2 separate regions of the Homo sapiens genome follow, and region 2 is linked to region 1. Evidence: promoter capture Hi-C in human tissues and cell types (Jung and others, 2019). All regions are on one chromosome and are shown on one strand. The core of a region is centred on a gene start or on the middle of the fragment in contact, and the rest is flanking DNA. Distances in the headings are between cores, read along the strand shown.

Evidence for each region. Contacts are between HindIII fragments. The study calls those that stand out against the background at their distance.
Region 2: a fragment that was not itself captured here is called in contact with the fragment with the promoter of MAP3K7 in region 1 in 1 of the 25 tissues and cell types used here (mesendoderm cells).

Annotation. Positions count from the first base shown.
Region 1 is chr6:90,585,466-90,588,735 of GRCh38, reverse strand. MAP3K7 (mitogen-activated protein kinase kinase kinase 7) reads left to right here and starts at 1,664. Exons shown (of 17, transcript NM_145331.3): 1 at 1,664-1,972. The coding sequence starts at 1,853. It overlaps LOC124901363 (a long non-coding RNA gene), which reads right to left and starts at 1,942. Exons shown (of 2, transcript XR_007059680.1): 1 at 781-1,942. RefSeq lists silencers at 1,532-1,728, 1,725-1,844. The HindIII fragment of the contact is 6,191 bases long and covers 1-3,270 here.
Region 2 is chr6:91,497,544-91,500,813 of GRCh38, reverse strand. No RefSeq gene overlaps it. Among named protein-coding and RNA genes, the nearest start is that of MIR4643, 22 kb to the left of the region's middle. The HindIII fragment of the contact is 5,415 bases long and covers 1-3,270 here.

The DNA.
Region 1 (3,270 bases), core at 415-2,914:
CTCCAGGGAAAGGGAGGACTGACAAAAGCTATTCATTTGTACAGAATATCTAAGTATTTATTGAGTTCCCACCTGGCAGCAAGATCAAGGTGTTAAAAGGAAATCGGATATAGACCTGCAGAGTTATAGCACAAGGTAAGAAGTGACCATCCTTGTTTGGAAATGCAAGGGGAATGACAGGTGAAAATGACTGTCCCACTGATTATATCAGCTTCTACTGGGTATCAGTGCACCACGCATCATTTCACATGCCCTGATTTCTCACTTGGACAACCAACTGGGTGATGGCATCCTTAAGTGACATAGGAAAATAACATAGGAATATATTTGTGGTGGGTGACAACTTTTGAATTTGCTGTGGTATCTTGAAGTTTAGGTGTTTGTCTAAGTAGAGATGACCAATAGGTCCAGAATTCAGGAAAAATCTTGAGTATTTGGAGATTAGGAGTCATCATTATAAAAATAGTATGAGAAACAGAGACCTTGGGTAAGAGCATGCAAAGAGAGAGTGTACAGTGAAAAGAAATTATCGTTTCTTTCATTTTTTTATCCACTCATCAAACTGTCACTGCGTGTCACTAGAACTACGAATAAAAAGTGACAGAATGTTTCCCAGGAGTTTGTAACTTCTTGATGGTCAAATCCAATGATCTATTTGCAATCCCAAATGTGTTTAACATAATTCCACAGTTAGGCTTTATGTCAAACGGACTATATAAAATTCAACAGTTAGTTTAAAACTAAAACTTGTGCTGGTAGTACAACATGAGCAATACTGACCATCTTGGGGACAGAATGATCTAGTTTGTGAGGACCATAATTGCTTTAAACTCTCAGCGTGTTTTCTCATGTCCTGAAAATGGTGACAAAAATATTCGATTTTCAAGGCGACTGTTGATGATTCATTTACCAATCTAAAGCACTAGTGCCCCGCACTCGTAATCCATAACTTGAGATGAACACACCAAATTATAAATATCTTATTCACCTAATCCGTGGAAAGTTTGTAACACCAAAATATTAACTTCTGTTCTTGATCACTCAGCCTCCATAGTTATTCATGTTGCATGATCTGATTCGCTCTTTTAGAATTTCTCATAGCGTCAGGTACTAGCTCAAAATAACAGGAGCAACTGCTTCTTTCCATATCCCACATTGAGGAAAACACATTTTGCAAGCCGTCTTAAAGAAACAGGTCAACTTAGTTTAGGGATGAAACTTAAAAGTAAGCTTCGTCACAAAAAACACAGTTCAACACCACCTCGCCCGGCTGCAGGCAGCTCAGAGGACAGGAAGTGAGGCCAAGACATATTTCACGCAGCACAGACTAAACCCCAGCTTTTATCTTTCCCGCTGGTCCTTAAGGGACCAACCGTACTGATTTTCCGTCATGTTCCGCGCCACTTCCGTTCGCGCACTTTAATTACGTCAGGCGTCCTCTCTCGCGGTATCATCCGGTTGCTGAGGCCCTGTAATAAAGGTCTCGCGAAATTTGTTCTAGAGGTCCAAGTTTGCTTCTTAGCTTACTCCACCCCACCCCCAACCTGTCCCTCCTTTTCTTTCCAAGTCACAAAATTCTCCCCTCCCCTACCCCGGAGTTTACGGCCCTCCTCCTGTTTCCGATTTCAGCCCGGAACCGGAAGTGTAGTGGGCGGGGCCCGTCGGCGGAAAACGCAGCGGAGCCAGAGCCGGACACGGCTGTGGCCGCTGCCTCTACCCCCGCCACGGATCGCCGGGTAGTAGGACTGCGCGGCTCCAGGCTGAGGGTCGGTCCGGAGGCGGGTGGGCGCGGGTCTCACCCGGATTGTCCGGGTGGCACCGTTCCCGGCCCCACCGGGCGCCGCGAGGGATCATGTCTACAGCCTCTGCCGCCTCCTCCTCCTCCTCGTCTTCGGCCGGTGAGATGATCGAAGCCCCTTCCCAGGTCCTCAACTTTGAAGAGATCGACTACAAGGAGATCGAGGTGGAAGAGGTGAGCGAGGCCCGGCATGGAGACGCCGGTCCCGGCCTGCCCCGCCCCCGCCTCTGCCTGGTGCCGGCTCTGAAGGTGCCTCCCGGGGCCCCTCTAATTCGCGGGACCCTGCGGGGTCCACCCGGGAGACCCCACAGCCCTCAGTAACGTGGGAGTGGGGGTTACTCTCTGAGCTCAACTGCTCGGGAGTAGCTGCCTTTTTTCCTCTCTTGGGTACTCTTGATTTTGGATTTGATATTCCGGTGATAAACAGGAGAATGAACTGGTGAGATAGTGTGGTCCACCAGTTCTCGTATCTGTAAGTAGTAGTTTCAGCGAAGATCGTAGCCGTTCTGGAGTTTCAGTCCGCTGGACGTAATGTTCTTTTTTTTTTTTTTTTTTTTTTGAGACGGAGTCTCGCTCTGTCGCCCAGGCCGGACTGCGGACTGCAGTGGCGCAATCTCGGCTCACTGCAAGCTCCGCTTCCCGGGTTCACGCCATTCTCCTGCCTCAGCCTCCCGAGTAGCTGGGACTACAGGCGCCCGCCACCGCGCCTGGCTAATTTTTTGTATTTTTAGTAGAGACGGGGTTTCACCTTGTTAGCCAGGATGGTCTCGATCTCCTGACCTCATGATCCACCCGCCTCGGCCTCCCAAAGTGCTGGGATTACAGGCGTGAGCCACCGGGCCCGGCCGGACGTAATGTTCTTAATGGCCAAAGATTGTATTATATTCGACTTCTACTTCAGTACCTGGCATGTAGGGGATGCTCAATAAATGCTTGTTAAATTAGTAGATCATCAAGTCTAATAAAGTGTTTCCCTTAGCACCGAATGGTTCTCAATTTCTCCGATACCGCACAGCAATACTCGTAATGTTTAAATGCTCGGCTTTCAGTTGGGCTAATGTAGGTGAATTTCACCATAAGTAACATAGACTGGTCTACGATCAAAAGATGTTTCAAGTAGCATATTCTGAAGAGATAACGAATGATTTCGGTGACAATCAGAATATAATATTAGACTAGAAATCGCTATCAGAAAACCCATATCCTTTCTTTATTCTGCAGTAATTTATTTTAGAACAAGATATTTCAAAGTGACTTTAAAGCGTCGTTTTTCAAATTAACAGGTAAATTGGGTTCTAATGACTATAAAATTTAGAAAAGTAAAAACTGCATATATATTTTTTAAAGACACTTTAGAACTTGTTAAAAACTTTGGTTGAAAATACTATCTCTTACCATTTATTTGCCATTTTTTAAATTTATTAAGCACTTTGCGTTATATAGTCCATGAAAAACCTAGTGAAATATTATAG
Region 2 (3,270 bases), core at 251-2,750, 910 kb before region 1:
TTTTTTAACACCTAGTAGAAATGCTATAAATAGTTTATAAAAGATAATAAAGCTCTTAGAGTTTTAAAATTTATTTCAGAATAAATGATTAGTAATTACTTCTTTTTGCTTTGTAACCGAAGTTTTTGGAAACTAAAACGAGTTCTTTAATGGAAAATTTTGAATAAGACAAATTAACTGAAATTAATTCACAATATTTAACATTACTTTGTAATCTATTGCACATTCCTATTTAATTATGTCTTTTTTGTTTACTGGTCTTTACCAGTAAGATTCACTTATATGATTTTTATCTTAAGGTCATATATAGTGATGGAAGTGCCTATAGTGTATATGATGTTCCTATAGCGTAAGAAGAGCCTTATTTATCTACACAAGCAATACACTGGCCAGTATTACCTCTCGTATATAGTAACATATTATCTAAAATGAGTTACACATTTCTCCCATGTTCAAGGCACCATTCTAGAGGCCAAACATAGATAATTTAGGCGTGGTCTTTGATACTAGGAGTTTATAATAAATCAAGGGAAACAAATGTTAAGGAATTGATACATGCTGTAATAACATTTTGAGTTATGTTCTGTGGATTCACTAAGGGTATCATTAATTAAAGAAGGCCAGGAAGGCTTTCTCAGAAGGCCATATGTGAGCTGAACCTTGAGGAACAAGCAAAAAGGAGGAGTTTGATGGAAATGAAGTTTTTCAAAGTTCAGTCACTGTGGACCACATGCATGACCTATGTTAATACCTATGGTTATAGTTACTTCATATTTTCCTTCATATGATTCAAGTTTTATTAAATTTTAAATAAATGTACTTAAAAAGAAAGCACGTTAGGACTTCCACAAGTGAAAACCCAGTATCACCTGGCACAATGTAAAGGTGAAGTTGAAAAATAGATGTGTTGAAAACAGAAGAAAACATTATATTTTACATAGTTTCTGTTGCTACCAAAGACTGTTCTGCAGGTCTGCATCCCTTGTTACAAAGACAATTTAACAGAAAGAACAGGGACAAAATAGAAGAGATACAAAAAAAAAAAAAAATGCTGCTACAGACTGACTGAGTCCCCTTACAGTTCATAAGTTAAACCCCTAACCCCCCATGTGATGTTATTTAAAGATGGGATCTTTAGGAAGTAATTAATTTGGGATGAGATAATGAGGGTGGGGCCCTCGTGCTGAGATCAGTCCCTTTATAAGAGACACTTGAGTCCTCTTTCTCCCCACCCCCACTCCATATGAGGACACAGTGTAAGGGTGGCCACCTGCAAGCCAGGAAGAGAGCCCTCACCAGACCGTTCATTCTGACACCTTGATCTGGAACTTCTAGCCTCCAGAACTGGGAGAAAAAAAATGGTTGAAGCCTTTCAGTCTATGGTATTTTGTTATAATAGCCCAAGAGGACTAAGACAGATGCCAAGAAAATTGAGGAAAAAAAAATATTTTCCAAGTCGTAATACAATTTGATTTAATGCTATGTGTGTGAACATAATTATCTACCTACCAGGTCCAGCTTATGATAAATGAAATGTGTCCTACACTTTTGGAAACTCTATTTTTAAAAACGCCCTCATAAACACAGGTAGAGAGATGTGAGCAAATATGCCATGGTTGGTGGAGAACAAGTGATCTAGTGGTGCAGCAAGTAGCCTTTTAAAGCTTGAACTTGAAGGTATGTGTGGCAGATATAATGATTATATTCATACGAGCATAGGGGGATTTTTCCTGGCCTGAATTATTTAGTTTAGACAAATTTATTAGTTTCATTACTATGTAACAAATCACCACAAGCTTCGCAGCTTAAAACAACACACATTTTGTTACTCAGAGTTTCTGCAGGTCAGGAGTCTAGGCTTTAACATAACTGGATCTTCTGCTTATAGGCTTACAAGGCTGCAACCAAGACATCAACTGAACTGCATTCTCAGCTGGAACTAAGCTGGAAAAAAAAAATGTATTTCAATGCTTACTCAGGTTGTTGACAGAATTCATTCCCTTGTGGCTGAAGGGCTAAGGGTACCAGCATTTTGCTGGCCATGAGTTGAAGCTTCTCTCAGCTAGTAGCGGCTACTCACATTCCTAGAAGCCATTTTAATTCCCAGAAGCTCCCATTGTTCCTTGCCACATGGGCTTTCCCAACATAGCCTATTACTTAAGCCAGCAAGGAAGACAGTTCTTAGAGCAAGTCCCCACCAGCAAAGCAGTTATATATATATATAATATGTATGTATATATGATGTTATATATGTGATATACATTGTTATAGATAACATATATTAGTTTTGTATATGTAATATATATTATACATAACCCAATATCGTATGTGTGTGTGTGTGTGTGTGTGTGTGTGTATAATAATGTAACCATTGGAATTACTATTCTATCATCTTTTATACATTCCATTTTTTAGAGGCAAGTTACAGGTCCTGTCAACACTCAGCAAGAAGAGATTATACCAAGACATGAAAACCAGGAAGCAAGGATCATGGAGAGAATCACTGGTAACACTCTAACATGTATCTGGCACAGATGTCTGAAGCGGTTCTCTCCAACTACACACATTTAAATTCTTTTAACTTCAAGTACTAAAAAAGGAATAAATTTTAAAAATCATTGTGTTTATAAATTTGAATGTGAAGGAAAATAACAACAAATTACCCAACTCCTGATCCCAAACTTAATTCCAAAGTAGAAAATTACCAGGATATAAGTATAGCATTCATGGGTCTAGAAAGCTTTTAATAGATATGGTGCTAAAGACTCCTCCTGGATTCTGGGCAGATTGCTGCTGGTACCCATGGCTATTTGGTTACTTTGTTATTATGAGCATATGATAGCCCAATCCCGTGACTGGGGCTAAGTCTCTTCATACTTCCTCATTTACCTTTCCTCCAGCACCATCAACATGAAATCATTAGTGAATCTCTTTTTGAAGGAAGAAGAGAAATAAATAGGAAGAGGAAGGATGAGGAGCCATGGAAGGAGGAAAAGAGGAGGAGGAGGGAAAGAGGAGGAAGAGGAAGAAAAGGAAGAGGAGGAAGAGGAATATCACACGCAAAATAAGTTGACTTAAAAACAGACCAAAGCCTGCTTATCTTTCCTCACTTTAATCATAATCAGATAATTACAATTGGAACTTTAAAATACAGCTCACGCCTTGAGAGTCTTTACGTAGACAAGGGCCCTGTTTTGGGTTTGACTGCAGTGCACAAGCATATGAATTCATCATTTGAGTAATGATGGTGGGCAGGGTGCAGAGCAATAA